Linked DNA regions of Homo sapiens: all the other regions are linked to region 4. The links are contacts of gene promoters, found by promoter capture Hi-C in human tissues and cell types (Jung and others, 2019). All regions are on one chromosome and are shown on one strand. Each heading gives the region's core, a stretch centred on a gene start or on the middle of the fragment in contact. The rest is flanking DNA. Distances are from core to core; before and after follow the strand shown.

Evidence for each region. The method cuts DNA at HindIII sites, captures the fragments that hold promoters and counts their contacts. A contact is called where the count stands out against the background at its distance.
Region 1: a fragment that was not itself captured here is called in contact with the fragment with the promoter of CGN in region 4 in 1 of the 25 tissues and cell types used here (H1 embryonic stem cells).
Region 2: a contact is called between a fragment that was not itself captured here and the fragment with the promoter of CGN in region 4, in 6 of the 25 tissues and cell types used here (aorta, bladder, heart left ventricle and 3 more).
Region 3: a contact is called between a fragment that was not itself captured here and the fragment with the promoter of CGN in region 4, in 4 of the 25 tissues and cell types used here (H1 embryonic stem cells, IMR-90 fibroblasts, aorta and 1 more).
Region 5: a contact is called between a fragment that was not itself captured here and the fragment with the promoter of CGN in region 4, in 1 of the 25 tissues and cell types used here (liver).

What each region holds. Positions count from the first base shown.
Region 1 is chr1:151,639,291-151,641,990 of GRCh38, reverse strand. The region is part of intron 2 of SNX27 (sorting nexin 27); the gene reads right to left. Among named protein-coding and RNA genes, the nearest start is that of SNX27, 29 kb to the right of the region's middle. The HindIII fragment of the contact is 4,881 bases long and covers 1-2,700 here.
Region 2 is chr1:151,318,953-151,321,652 of GRCh38, reverse strand. All of the region lies in intron 1 of PI4KB (phosphatidylinositol 4-kinase beta), which reads left to right. Among named protein-coding and RNA genes, the nearest start is that of PI4KB, 7.1 kb to the left of the region's middle. The HindIII fragment of the contact is 7,586 bases long and covers 1-2,700 here.
Region 3 is chr1:151,720,908-151,723,607 of GRCh38, reverse strand. RIIAD1 (regulatory subunit of type II PKA R-subunit domain containing 1) reads right to left here and starts at 2,086. Exons shown (of 5, transcript NM_001144956.3): 1 at 1,988-2,086; 2 at 1,446-1,522. The coding sequence starts at 2,071. RefSeq lists a silencer at 2,132-2,201. The HindIII fragment of the contact is 5,488 bases long and covers 1-2,700 here.
Region 4 is chr1:151,510,134-151,512,833 of GRCh38, reverse strand. CGN (cingulin) reads right to left here and starts at 1,447. Exons shown (of 21, transcript NM_020770.3): 1 at 1,319-1,447. RefSeq lists enhancers at 1-64, 927-1,066, 1,218-1,793, 1,794-2,370 and a silencer at 1,397-1,796. The HindIII fragment of the contact is 12,501 bases long and covers 1-2,700 here.
Region 5 is chr1:151,379,856-151,382,555 of GRCh38, reverse strand. No RefSeq gene overlaps it. Among named protein-coding and RNA genes, the nearest start is that of SELENBP1, 8.5 kb to the right of the region's middle. The HindIII fragment of the contact is 4,780 bases long and covers 1-2,700 here.

The sequences.
Region 1 (2,700 bases), core at 66-2,565, 130 kb before region 4:
TATATCTATATCTGATATATATATATCTCATATATATCTATAGCTGATATATATATCTCATATATATCTATAGCTGATATATATATCTCATATATATCTATAGCTGATATATATATCATATATATCTATAGCTGATATATATATCTCATATATATCTATAGCTGACATATATATCTCATATATATCTATATCTTATATATCTCATATATATCAGATATATATAGCATATATATGATATATATGTATCTGATATATCTATCTGATATATATCATATGCTATATATATCATATATATGATATATATATCAGATATATATGATATATATATCTGATACATATGATATATATATGATACATATGATATATATATATATATATATATATATATATATCTGATAAAGGACTTGTAGAACCAGAATGTATAAAGAACCCCTACAATAAAATAATAAGACAACCCAATTTTTTAAACGGGCAAAAGAGTTAAACAGCTACTTCATCAATGAAGACACATGAATGCCCATTAAGCACACAAAAAGCAGCTCATCATCATGAGTCATTAGGTAAATGCAAATTAAAACCACAGTAAGGTATCACTATGTCCATGAGAATGGCTAGAATTAAAAAGACTGAAAATATCAAGAGGTTATGGAACCACTGGAACTCTCCACTGCATATGATAATGTAAAAATGATATAGCCACTTTGGAAAACTGTTTGGCAGTTTTTTATAAAGTTAAACTTACACTTACCCTGCAATTCCACTTCTTGGTATATACTCAAGAGCAATGAAAACATATGTCTACATAAAGACCTGTACATTTAATATTATTTCATGGCAGCTTTAGTCATACTAGTCCAAAACTGCAAACAACCCACATGTGCATGAACAATGAAAGGATGAACAAACTGTAGTAAATCTATACAATGGACTACTACTCAGCAATTAAAAAGGGACAAATATTTGGTTTAAATAACAATGTCTGCCAATCTTAAGCACTATACTAACTGAACAAAGCCAGATACAAGAGAGTACAAATGGTATGATTCTACTTATTTGACATTCTGGAAAATGTAAAATATGGTGACAGTAAGCTGATCCGTGGTTGACAAGGGCAGTGGTAAGGGGTGAGGACTAACTGTAAAGGGCATGAGGGAACTTTTGAGGGTATGAAAATATTCTAAATCTTCATGGTGGTGGTGGTGGTTATAAGACTATGTACATTTGTCAAAACTTGTAAAAGTGGAGACTTAACATGAGTGAATGTTAATATAGGTAAACTATGTTCAATAAAGTTGATTTGAAAAGTACAATTAGTGGGCTGGGCGCAGTGTCTCATACCTGTAATCCCAGCACTTTGGGAGGCTGAGGCAGGTGGATTACCTGAGGTCAGGAGTTCGAGACTAGCCTGGCCAACATGGTGAAACACCATCTCTACTAAAAATACAAAACTTAGCAGGGCATGGTGGTGCGCACCTGTAATCCCAGCTACTTGGGAGGCTGAGGCAGAATTGTTTGAACCCGGGAGGCAGAGATTGCAGTGAGCCAAGATCACACCACTGTACCCCAGGCTGGGGGACAGAGTGAGACTTCGTCTTAAAAAATATATATAATAAAAATAAAAATAAACAAAGGTACAATTGGTAGTATTATTCCTTTTCTCAGGTTTCCAAGGTTTTAGGTAATTCCCAAAAGGTCTCAACATCCAGACTGCTCTACTTTTAGGATGTGACCTTGATTTCAACTTCTTACATGCCTTATGACTCAAAGTTAGCACTTAGGAAGCATAAAACTCTAAATTCTGTGTGTGGTTCTAAGACTACAGAAGTCCATGCTGAAATAAAACCTATATGCCATTATCTACAGCTAATTACAGATGCAACCAAGCATTATTTGATCCTCTGCAACTCTTTTAGCTTCCTTGCTTTTCTTATCTCTTCACTAAAAAGAATTTACCATAAATGTTTAGTAGCTCGTTCCTATGCAGAGGATAAATCTCAGTTTTAGAGACTGTAACTTTAGTCAACTGTTAAGCTTTAAAACCTGTAGTCTGTTTGCCAGCATCTAACAGAACCCACTGCATTTTCTACTAAGAATAATGAACATTTCTCATTATATCAACACTCCACAAATAATTAAAGGCAAATAAAGCATATTGCAACCAAAAGAAAAATTAAGTAGACTGAGCTATCAGTGGCAATTAGGCTCTGAAGAACAAAGGCATTCAGCAAAGGGGCTAGCACACATCACTAAAAATTCAAGATGGGCTTTCCTGCATAGCTACAACAGCAACAGATTAGAAATGTGTGAAACAGCTCATGGGAATTGCATTCAGGAAACTCGTGGGAAAAACCACAGTTAATCATTCACACGGATATCTCCAAAGAAAATGAAAAAGAACATGATGTGGAAAGAAGAGTAGAGACATCTAAGTTCTGAAATGGGTGAACCTCTCTATTACCCAAATATCTTGAAGGACACCATCCTTTTACATTAATCTTGCCCTATAGCACCACAGAATCAACAGTAAATAAGATACTATTAGCAAAGAGATACGGCAACCAACAAAAGAACAAACAAAAAAGAAACTAAACAAAAACTCACACGTTTACGACAAACCAGAATGCAAACTTGAAACTATCTAAAAATAAAATGGAATTATACTCAAGCTGAGTAGGACTCTTTTCCACTACTGTAATTCAC
Region 2 (2,700 bases), core at 122-2,621, 190 kb after region 4:
ATCTGCCCTCCTCAGCCTCCCAAAGTGCTGGGATTACAGGCGTGAGCCACCATGCCCTGCCCACAAAGGCATATTTTCTTGGCATTCAAAACTAAATGAAGCAAGCTGGGCATGGTGGCGGGTGTCTGTAATCCCAGCTACTTGGGAGGCTGAGGCAGGAGAATCGCTTGAACCTGGGAGGCGGAGGTTGCGGTGAGCCAACATTGCGCCACTGCACTCCACTCCAGCCAGGGCAACAGAGCAAGACTCTGTCTCAAAAAAATAAATAAAATAAAAATAATAGTAATAATAAATAGCTAAAGCAATTTAACCCTATTCCCTACAACACCTTCTTCTCCATATGACTTGCTTCAGATGCAGGCAGTGCCTGGGTTCCTGAGAGGCCAGGGAAGAGACCCAGCTCCAGTTTGGTGGTTTCTAGTGGTAGAGCTGCTTATATAGGAGAGGAGTCTGTTTTTTCCTGCACCTCTCAACACTGTCTAGCTCCCTGAGGAGTAAAAGCTGCCGGGAGGGAGAGTCTGTTCAGTAGCAAAATCCTCTGAATACTGTGATGTGATTCTTAGCTGAGCCCTGGGAGTTTTTCTTTTGTCTGTGAGATAAAAGAGGTGATAGTATCCTTATTTGCCTTCCTGGTGCCAGTAATAATCCCAATCGTAGTTAATTGGGGCAGGCATCTGCTAAATTTTCTAGTGAGGTCTGAGACACTATTATGTGGGAGAATGTCTGAACTGTATTTCCCTTGAAAGTTTTGAAAAGTGTACTTCTAGGAGCTTTCAGTGACTTAAAAGTCTGTGGACTAGAGGGAGAGGAAAGGATGTACCAAACATAGAGACTGAGAAAAAGAAGTTGATTGTTTAAGATGATTGAGGCTATCACATGAGTTTCTAAGCAGACCTAAAAGGTAGTGGTCCCCGTTGAATCGGTGACCCTCTGATGAGAGTGCCCTACGAAGGTGTGGCAGGGAATGATTAAAGCTTCCTTCTTATTATTCCTGTGCAACTCACAGTTGCGAGTAGGGACAGATCCACATAGGCAGCCATGCTGGTTCTACTGCTCAGAGGGCACTACCTAATTTTGGGAGAGAGCATAGTGAAAGAGTTGCCACCTTCTTACCAATACCAAGCTCAATCTGCATCAGGGATATTAAATTCAGGAATGAACTTGCTTGGCAGAGTTGGCAGAAAGAAACAGAAATAGCCTTTTTTGGTGATCTCTGAGAACAGAAGAGTTCCCCATCCGTCTTTCTGCAAAACTTTAGTGGTGACTGCTGGGAGGCAGGGAGCTGGACTATATGATATTGGGCAGTTAAAAGTAACCTGGGGCCGGGCGCGGCAGCTCACACCTGTAATCCCAGCACTTTGGGAGGCCGAGGTGGGCAGATCACGAGGTCAGGAAATCGAGACCATCCTGGCTAACATGGTGAAACCCTGCCTCTACTAAAAATACAAAAAATTAGCCGGGCGTGGTGGCGGGCATCTGTAGTCCCAACTACTTGTGAGCCTGAGGCAGGAGAATGGCATGAACCCGGGAAGCGGAGCTTGCAGTGAGCCAAGATTGCACCACTGCACTCCAGCCTGGGCGACAGAGCGAGACTCCGTCTCAAAAAGAAAAAAAAAGTAACCTTAACATTTCAGACGTACAAGAACAGACACTGGAAGGGTGGTGGTGGAAAACAGCCTCCCAGAGGGACTAAAGAATCTCTAGGCCTCCTTATTCCACCTACCCAAAGTATATGCATCCAGGGTCACCGGGGTTGAAGGTGATGTCACTAATATTTTGAAATTACCTGTATTCCAACTCTACAAAATCTTTCCTCTTGCTCATGCTCTTGAGTGTGTCTTAGACTCACTCTATTAGCATTTTTGTGAAGAGGCCTCTGAGTCTGAGTCCTTTGTTAGCTATAGTCAGATTCTGGAGCCAGGTTGATCTGATGAAATTTCCCCAGTTCTGCACTGATTCCAGATTTGGTGAGGCTCTGAAGGATTGTTCTTGGAGAGCAGTGGCTTTGGTCAGCAGTGTTCTTTCATTGAACTTCCTTCCAACAGTCCCTCCAGAGGAGGTGTTCTTTGTTTTGTGACTCCTGTTCCTCCCTGTTCTTTGGAAGGCCTAGATCTATGAGTCCTAGTCTGATTTCTTTTTGCCTTTTCAATTGTCCCTCCAGTTGTTAGAATGTGTGTATGACAGTGGGGGGAGTGGTATTGGGGCAGAAAAGGCTGTCATAAGTATTTCTGGAAGATTCTCAAACAATTGGAACTCTTTGCTTCCCTTATAAAATAATATAAGTTTTATGTTACACACACACTGGTTAGTAACCTTTTAGGTGATGAGGATTCAACTAGCATTTCTTTTTTTTTTTTTTGAGACAGAGTCTCGCTGGTCTTGAACTGCTGACCTCAAAGTGATCCACCTGCCTCAGCCACCCAGTGCACTGGGATTACAGGCATGAGTCACTGTGCCCGGCCTCAACTAGCATATATTGAGTACTACTATGTATCAAAGACTGTGCTAGATTCTTTCATACACGTGATGGTATTTGTTCCACATAGCAACAATGAGAAGGAAGTGTTTTTTCCCAATTTGCAGTTGAGGATAAATGGCTTGCATAAGTTGCACATTTCTGAAAGGCTGAATGAGGATTTTCAACCCCAGCCTATTTGCCTTCAAGTCCAGAGCTCTTTCCATTATATGTTAGCAGCCACG
Region 3 (2,700 bases), core at 182-2,681, 210 kb before region 4:
CTGCCTCAGTCTCCCAGGTAGCTGGGATTACAGGCACGTGCCACCACGCCTGACTAATTTTTGTATTTTTAGTAGAGACAGGGTTTCCTCATGTTGGCCAGGCAGGTCTCGAACTCCTGGCCTCAAGTGATCCACCCCTCTCAGCCTCCCAAAGTGCTGGGATCACAGGCGTGAGCCAACGCATCTGCCTGGCCAACTTTTTTTTGTTTGTTTGCGATGGAGTTTTGCTCTTGTTGCCCAGGCTAGAGTGCAATGGAGCAATCCCAGCTCACTGCAACCTTTGCCTCCTGGGTTCAAGCGATTCTCCTGCCTCAGCCTCTCAAGTAGCTGGGATTACAGGCATGTGCCACCACGCCTGGCTAATTTTGTATTTTTAGTAGAGACGGGGTTTCACCATGTTGGTCAGGCTGGTCTCGAACTCCCGACCTCAGGTGATCCACCCGCCTCGGCCTCCCAAAGTGCTGGGATTACAGGCATGAGCCACCTTGCCTGACCTCGCCAACTTTTGAGAAGACAAGGGAGGGCCCACCTCTGGCTATAAGCACACAGTCCAGAGGGGAAATGGGGACCGACTGCTTACAGCACAATACAGTGGGAAAACCAGGGGTTTGAATCCTGGTTCAGCAACTTTGGGAAGGTACTTCACCTTTCTAAGCTTAAATTTTCTCACTTATAAAATAAAAATGACAATCACCTGTCTTTTGTGGAGGTGCTGGGAGGATCAGCAAAAGTGTTCCAAGATGCCACACACTGCGTGGGCACTGAGAACACAAACACACTCCACAAGCTCGGAGCTTTGGACCAGTAACAGAAGATTGACAGCTCAATTACAATACAGTGTGGTAAGTGCTAATGTAGGGGAACAGCACAATGCCTGGAGATGGGTGCCATTATAATTATTTAAACCTTGTCTATTTGTCTATAACCAAACAGCATTTGAGATAGCTCTATTGTTTTCATCCACTGATGCTCCGTGATTTATTTTTTTAATTCTCCTTCTTCATCCCATTAGGATATGTTTCCATTCAAGCAAATGCCAGGCTGAAAGGAGGGTGGGGGAAGGAAAGAACATATTCCAGGATACGCTGGTAAATTGTCTTCTCTTCCCCAAGAAAAGAGTGGCTTCCAACCCTTGGAATTTTTCTACAGTAATGTTTTCAAGTAGGGAAGGGCCAACCAGACAACTGATTTTTGTTTTAAGTTCAACTAGTGATTTTGTTAAGCTCCTATGGTTGAGAATAGTGTTCTACACCCAGTGGATGGCTGTTGGGTTTCGCAACGCCAAATTCCCTCTTCCAAGTGTCATAAGGTATGTATTTATCCTTATGGTTAAAGTAAATGAATAGACATATTTTTAAGAATTTAGAGATAACTGAAGGAAACCTCTAGAGATAACGAAGAAAACCCTGCGTGCCACAAATCCCAGAGCCTGGAAAACCACCTACCTGAAGAAACCACTTATGAGCCACTCTACTTCTTTGTGGGTCCTTAGGTACTTTTCGTTAGCAATCCGAGTCTGAATCTGGGGGGCAAGAACAAAGGGTCACTTCCATTAGGAGACAGATTCAGGGTTCAGCCCTGGAGATGTGAAGGGCTGCGGGAAACGGCGTGCGCATTTAACCCAAGTCTTTCCCCAGGATGCTTGAAAGTTTAAGCCACCCATCTTCTTACAGATAAAATATCATTCTGCCGCTTGTTCAGGATGAGGGGCCTTTACTAAGGTCGGATGTGTCTGGCAGTAATTTCGGCCCATTTCTCTGGCCGAGTCCCTGAGTTAGTTCTTCCTGCACTCTCAGATGCCCGTCGCGCTCTGTGCTGGGATCAGACGCCTAGAGGTCCGCCGGGGGTCTCCCCTGCGCCCTCCCCACTTTATCAGGGAACAGGCTCCCGCTCCCCTTCTCTCGGCGGCTCTCTTCCCAGTCTGGGGCCCCAGTCCTGGGGCAGCTACACTTTGGTGGACGCTGGATGGGGGCGCGGGCGCACCCACCTTGAATTTTCGCAGCTGCTCCAGCTGCGCTGCGCTAAGCGCCCCGGGGTCGGGCCGCTGCAGCAAGCCTGGCAGCGTCTCCATCTTGCTGCGGTCGTCAAGGCGACCGGCCGCGAGCCGGCGAGGCCCCGCCCCCGGCCCCGCCCTGCCCCCAAGCCCGGCCCCTTCAGCGAAGCAGGGGCTAGGGGCTGAGGGAACTGAGGGGTGAGCTCCGGGGCGGGGGCTTGGGGGGTGGGTCTCTAAAGGATCGCCTTTCCCGGATTGGGGGACTGATTTCTGGACTTAATTGTATGTGGAATGAGCCCTTTTTGACCCCACCCAACTTCAGGGTTTTTTTGTTAGCTCTAGAGTAAAACAGGAAAAAAGGTCTCCCCGAATCTGCTTCCAGACTCCCTCACTTGGACAGAAGCTAGAGGAAGCCTAGTACTGGGGAAAGAGAACCCAAGCTTCTTCCCTTTCCACTGTCCCAGAAGCCAACCCGTCCCTCTGTCCGGTACACATTCGACACTGGAGCCGTGGATTCTTCAAACAACGTGGAAGCACCCCAGAACATAGAGTGAGCTGAGTTCTGCAAAGGAAGGAACGTTCTGTCCGACTAAAGATGCTGGAAAGGACCTGGGGGACATTCTGCCAGAATTTCCCCCTCTTGGACTGACTTTTTTGTGTAGATTAACTTTCTCTTCACCCTGGGCTCCTCATAAATTCTAAATTAT
Region 4 (2,700 bases), core at 198-2,697:
GTCGGGCAAATCTCTGGATTAGCAGTCCCCCAGAGCCAGCCCCCAGACTCCCAAACATCCAGGATGAAAGAAGAGATGCATAGGCATGTGTAGGCAGCCCATCTACAAACATAGCGGTTGCTAATTATTTCCCAATTACAACAACCTTCCTCAGGCAGGGCTTCAAAGGGGCCAAGCTAAGGTTGACTCTAGTTCCTTTACCTGCCTAAGGCAAAGAAATTTGCCTCCAGTCTTGTCTGGGCCCCAAGGTGCACCTTTCATCTGTCCTGGGGATTTGGAGTTGTAATTTCCCTAGTCTCGTGGTCTCCTGATGAGTCCTGCCTATTTCCTGCCCCAATAGTGCCTGCTGCCATTCTGACAGCCACCGCAGTTCAGGAGTCAGGGATGCCTGGAGGGCGTTCAGGGAGTAATGGGGATTCCTCCAGACATCAAGGAAATTGGTTGGGCTCCCAAACCTCATCCAATGGTCCCCATCTAGAACCACAGAAAAAATATGTGGGTACTTGGAGAAAGGGTTTGACATCCGCCCCCAGAAAGGGGCCTCCTGAGAAATAAGTATTAATATTTATCAATATTTTGCAGGACCAGGCAGGGCTCTTTGCTTCCTCATATCCCTCTCTTGGGGAGTACTCTCTCTCTCTCTCAAGAGGAAGAAGGAACGATTCTCCCTGGCACGAAAGCAAAGGACACAAAGTGAAAGCCTAATGGTTGTACACCTGGTGAAGAGATGAGGGTGCCCTCTCATCTGCCCCTCAGTGTCTCTGATTCGCAACTGCCTTCGGCCGGAGGTGAAGGGCTGGGGAAAAAATCCCACACCTCAGAGTCATCTCAAAGCCACCAGGGTGCTGACAACGGCCAGCTGAGACCGCAGGACGCAGGAAAGACCCTCAGGCGAGCAGCACCTGCAGATGCCCTCCCCTGGCGAGTCTGCACCTCAGGCAGCAGCAGTTCCCGACTCAGCTGGAACTAACTCCTTCCCCGCGCCACCGCTGTCTCCAAGAGAAATTCTGCCCCTAGGGCTGGCGTCTGACCTCCAGAGACATCTGGCGCTGAAACGCTTTCATGCGCTGGGAACAGCCTTCGCCCCAGGTGCCCCTCGCCTGGCACCTTCCTAGCCACCTGCATCTGGCACCTCAGGGTAGGGGTCGGCTCTTAATCAGTACCCCACCCCGCCCCAATCTCCCCTCCTCCCGTCTCCCACTCGGCACCGGTGCCCTGGAGAGGGGCATCTCACACCGCCTCGATGCCTGCCCCTCAAAGGTACCCCTGAAGGCTCGCTTTCCTCTCGGGTGCCCTGGCCCGCACCGGGTCCACTCACCCTAGCCGGGCTCCGCGCTCCCAGGCTTGCGTTCGGGCTCGGGCTCGGGCTCGGGCTCGGGCTCGGGCTCGGGCTCGGGCAAAGCAGCACGCGCAGCTCCGGCCCTCCCCCTCGTCCTCGGAGCTCCCTCCTTTCTCTCCCTCCCACCAACCTGTTACTCCGCTGCGGAGCTCCACCCCCGCGGGCCGTCAGTGCCCGCCCCGCCTTTCCCCGCTCCGGTTGGTCCGCTTCCCGTAGGGGGCGGGGCCTCCGGTGCGGGGACCGGGACCCGGGGTCTCCAGCCGCGAAGGGCGGGCCAGGTCACGTGGACCCACGGGCTGCGGAGCGTCGGGGCGGGGCGGCGAGGGGCGCGGAGGCCATTTTGGGGGCGTCGCGGATGGTCGCGAGTGACCGCCGGCCAAGATCCCGGGAGCCGTCGGCCAGAGCATCTTCTGGGCTCTGCTAGAAAACAGCCTCCTGCCTCCCGTTTACTCCAAGGGAATCGCCGGCCAGGGCCCTTTCTGTCCTTCACCTACCTCTGCAGGAACCAGAATGCTCTTTCGTCACTTTCTGCAGAAAATATCTCCGTTGTCCCCCGACGTCAGAGCCTCCTGCACCTCAGCTCGTCTCCCTTTTCCCTGACCCGAACCAGAACCCTGATCTTGGATTCTCTTTTATCTTGTGGCCTCCGCAATCATTTTGCAGCCTGACATCTTTTTCTATGTAATATTTATCACCTTCTAGTTAATAACATAATTTTAAAAATCATTTTCATCATTTTGCCTCCCGTCCTACGATAAGCTTCACCAGAGCAAGGATCTCTTGTTCTGTGCCTTGCTTCACCCCAAACGCCTACAACAGGGACTGGTACATACTACATGCTTAATAAATATTTGTTGACTGAATGAATGGAAACCGGGGACGCAAATTTACCAAAATAGGAATGACCTTCGTTCTAAACTGAAAGGGACTCAGTTGTAAATTTACCTCAGAGTTAGCCTCTCAAAAAGTAGGGATGCTGATCCCAGTTCCTAGAAAAGAGTAAAAACTAGGGGCTCTGCAAACTGCAGGACCGCTCATACCAGCTGCAGTTAAAACAACATTAAAGCTGGCATCCTAGCTGTTAACCGTTGAGATATGTAAAAAAGAGATTGACTTCGTTTACGTTGCTGGGCTCCGGATTTTGTTCTCATTTAGTTACAACAAATATTTACCCTGTATCTATTGGAGTAGAAGAGGAATCTTCGATGCAGCACAGATTCCGGTGTATTCTCGGGAGCTGGTTTCCGCCCCTCCCCAAGCCTTCAAAAGCTAGGTGTGGGTCCTACAGAGTAAAGTCCACTTACCAGCTCCTCAGCTGGGATGCAAAGTCTCTGCATTCCAGAGCAAGCTGTATATAAGGA
Region 5 (2,700 bases), core at 62-2,561, 130 kb after region 4:
TCACACTGTTGTTCAACAGCTCTCTAGAACTTTCTCAGAAGGGCTGTATTGCTGCAACAACAACAACACAGCGTATGTTAGGTTCTGGGTGCTTTTCGAAGAGCTTTATGTATATCATCATGCAATTTTCAAAACACCCTATGAGGGGAATAGATATTTTATTTTCTCTCTTTTAGAGATGAGGAAACCGAGGTACAGAGAGGTTAAATTACTTGCCCAGATTCATAAAGCTAGTAACTGGTGGAAGTGGAATTCACACACACAGTCTGGTTCTAAAATTCTTGTTGTTAATCTCTTAATAATAGACCACTTCTGGCTGATGATGGTGTATAGTGGAGAGCCAGCCACCTGTAACCCAGCCTAGAATGTTTTTCTTCTCTGTAGTCTTCATGTATAACTTCTAAAGCTCTTAGGGTGGACTGAGGGGAGAGGGTATTGGCAAGACAGGGCTAGCCAGGCGACTCCGCAGCTTCTCTCTGCTGTTGGCAGCTTCACTCTCAGGGTTCCTTTCGGGCTCAACCCAGTTCTACTTAAGGATGATGAGCTCCTGGGCTTGGTTCCTGGGCTAGCTAGGTGGATCAGATAATCCCCAGTTCATAAGGAGGCTTGAGTCAAAGGCCACCTGGTGTCCCATCCTCTCATGTTTGGTTTCTCTTGGGACCCAGAAGCTCAGAAGAGGCTGTTTTTCAAGAGAACTGTTCTTTGCTGAAGTGGGCTGGGCTCAATCATTTGGGGTCACCCTGGGGACTCTCCTTCTGCCTCTTGCCTGCCTCATCCCATGGATCACCCCAACTCACCAAGCATCACTGGATCTGCTCGATCATAAGGCCCCAGTGGCAGAAGTGGTTGCAGCCAGAGAGCCCTTTCTTGTCCTAGATCCCAATCAAAGGACACTGCCTCTACCCCTCAAGTTCTATGTGCTGCCATGGCACCACCAGCTGCGCTGGACCCTGGGAGGTTCTGCAGCATGGTGACCCACCCGCACACCAGCCTTCCCTGCAGCAACCAGAACCCACTCCCTACTTCCTTGTGTTGGAGTCTCCGGTGGGCACACCTGGCTGCGTCCAAGACCAAGTCACATGCTTGCTCCTAGCAGCAAGGAGGCCTAAGGCCTGGGACGGTGAGTATCTGGCCTTTTGCCTCCCACCCAATATAGAAAGGGCTGAATGTGCTGGCCAGCCATCCAAGCAACAAAACACAAAAGCATTCTGTCTGAAGGGGCTGCGAACTTATGTGCATAGAGGTCCCAGGCCAGAGCCTGAAGCTACTGCCTGGCTTCAGATCCTGGGCTCTGCTACTCACTAGCTGTGTAACTTTGTATGAGTTGCTTCCTCTTTCTATGCTGTAACTTCTTTATCTGTAAATTGGACATAATGAAAATACCCACTTCATAGGGATGTTGTAAACCCTGTATAAGTAAAGGCAGAACATGCAAATAGCTCAGAGAAGTACTTGGCACATGGAAAGCTTTTATATGAGGTGGATGTGGTTCATTTCTCTTTCTTTATCCCTAAGTACTTCGAACAGTACCATGTATTTAATAAATGATAGCTGTTGTTATTTTATTATTACAGTTTGGGTATCCCTTATCCAAACTGCTTGGGACCAGAAGTGTTCCAGATTTCAGATTTTTTTCAGATTTTGGAATACATATATATATATTAAAATATCTTGGGGATGGGACCCAAGTCTAAACGCAAATTTATTTGTGTTTCATAAACACCTTATACACATAGCCTGAAGGTAACTTTATACAATATTTTAAATAATTTGTACATGAAACAAAGTCTTGACTGTGACCCAACACGTGAGGTCAGGCACGCAATTTGCTACCTGTGGTGTCACACTGGTGCTCAAAACATTTCAGATTTTGGAGCATTTTGGATTTCAGATTTTCAGATTAAGGATGCTCAACCTGTACCTATATCTTTTTTCTTTTTTTTTTTTTTTTTTAGACAGAGTCTCCCTCTGTCGCCCCAGGCTGCAATGCAGTGGTGCAATTTTGGCTCGCTGCAACCTCCACCTCCCAGGTTCAAGTGATTCTCCTGCCTCAGCCTCCCAAGTAGCTGGGATTGCAGGTGTGTGCCACCACGCCAGGCTAATTCTTATACTTTTAGTAGAGACAGGGTTTTGCCATGTTGGCCAGGCTGGTCTCGAACTCTTGACCTCAGGGGATCCACCTGCCTCAGCCTCCCAAAGTGCTGGGATTACAGGCGTGAGCCACCGCCTCAACCTGTACCTGTTTCTTGCCTACTTGTGCAGGTATTTCCATGGGATTGCATCCTTGAAGTGAAATTCCTAGGTAAAACAGTATGCACAGTTTAACTTTTGTGAGGTATTGACAAATTGTTTTTGTTAGTAAGGCACCAATTGACACTCTCATTAGTCCTAAATGAGTGGTCCCTTTGCCGCATAGTCTCACCAATACAAGATTTTAACCTTTAAATTTTTTGCCCATCTTATAGGCAAAAATGTTACTGTATTCTTTCACTGTTTCAATTGTTTACACATGTATTTCAAACTTAATATAAAATTTTAAAAATATGATTGATACATAATGTGAAAAATAAAAATTGCTCCCTGTAATCCAATTCTTGAGGTAACCACTGTTAGCTACATTTGGCATGATAAGGGAAGCTTTATCTCTACAAATCCTTTTCTTTAGGTTTTTTTTTTTTTTTTTAAGCGGAGTCTTGCTCT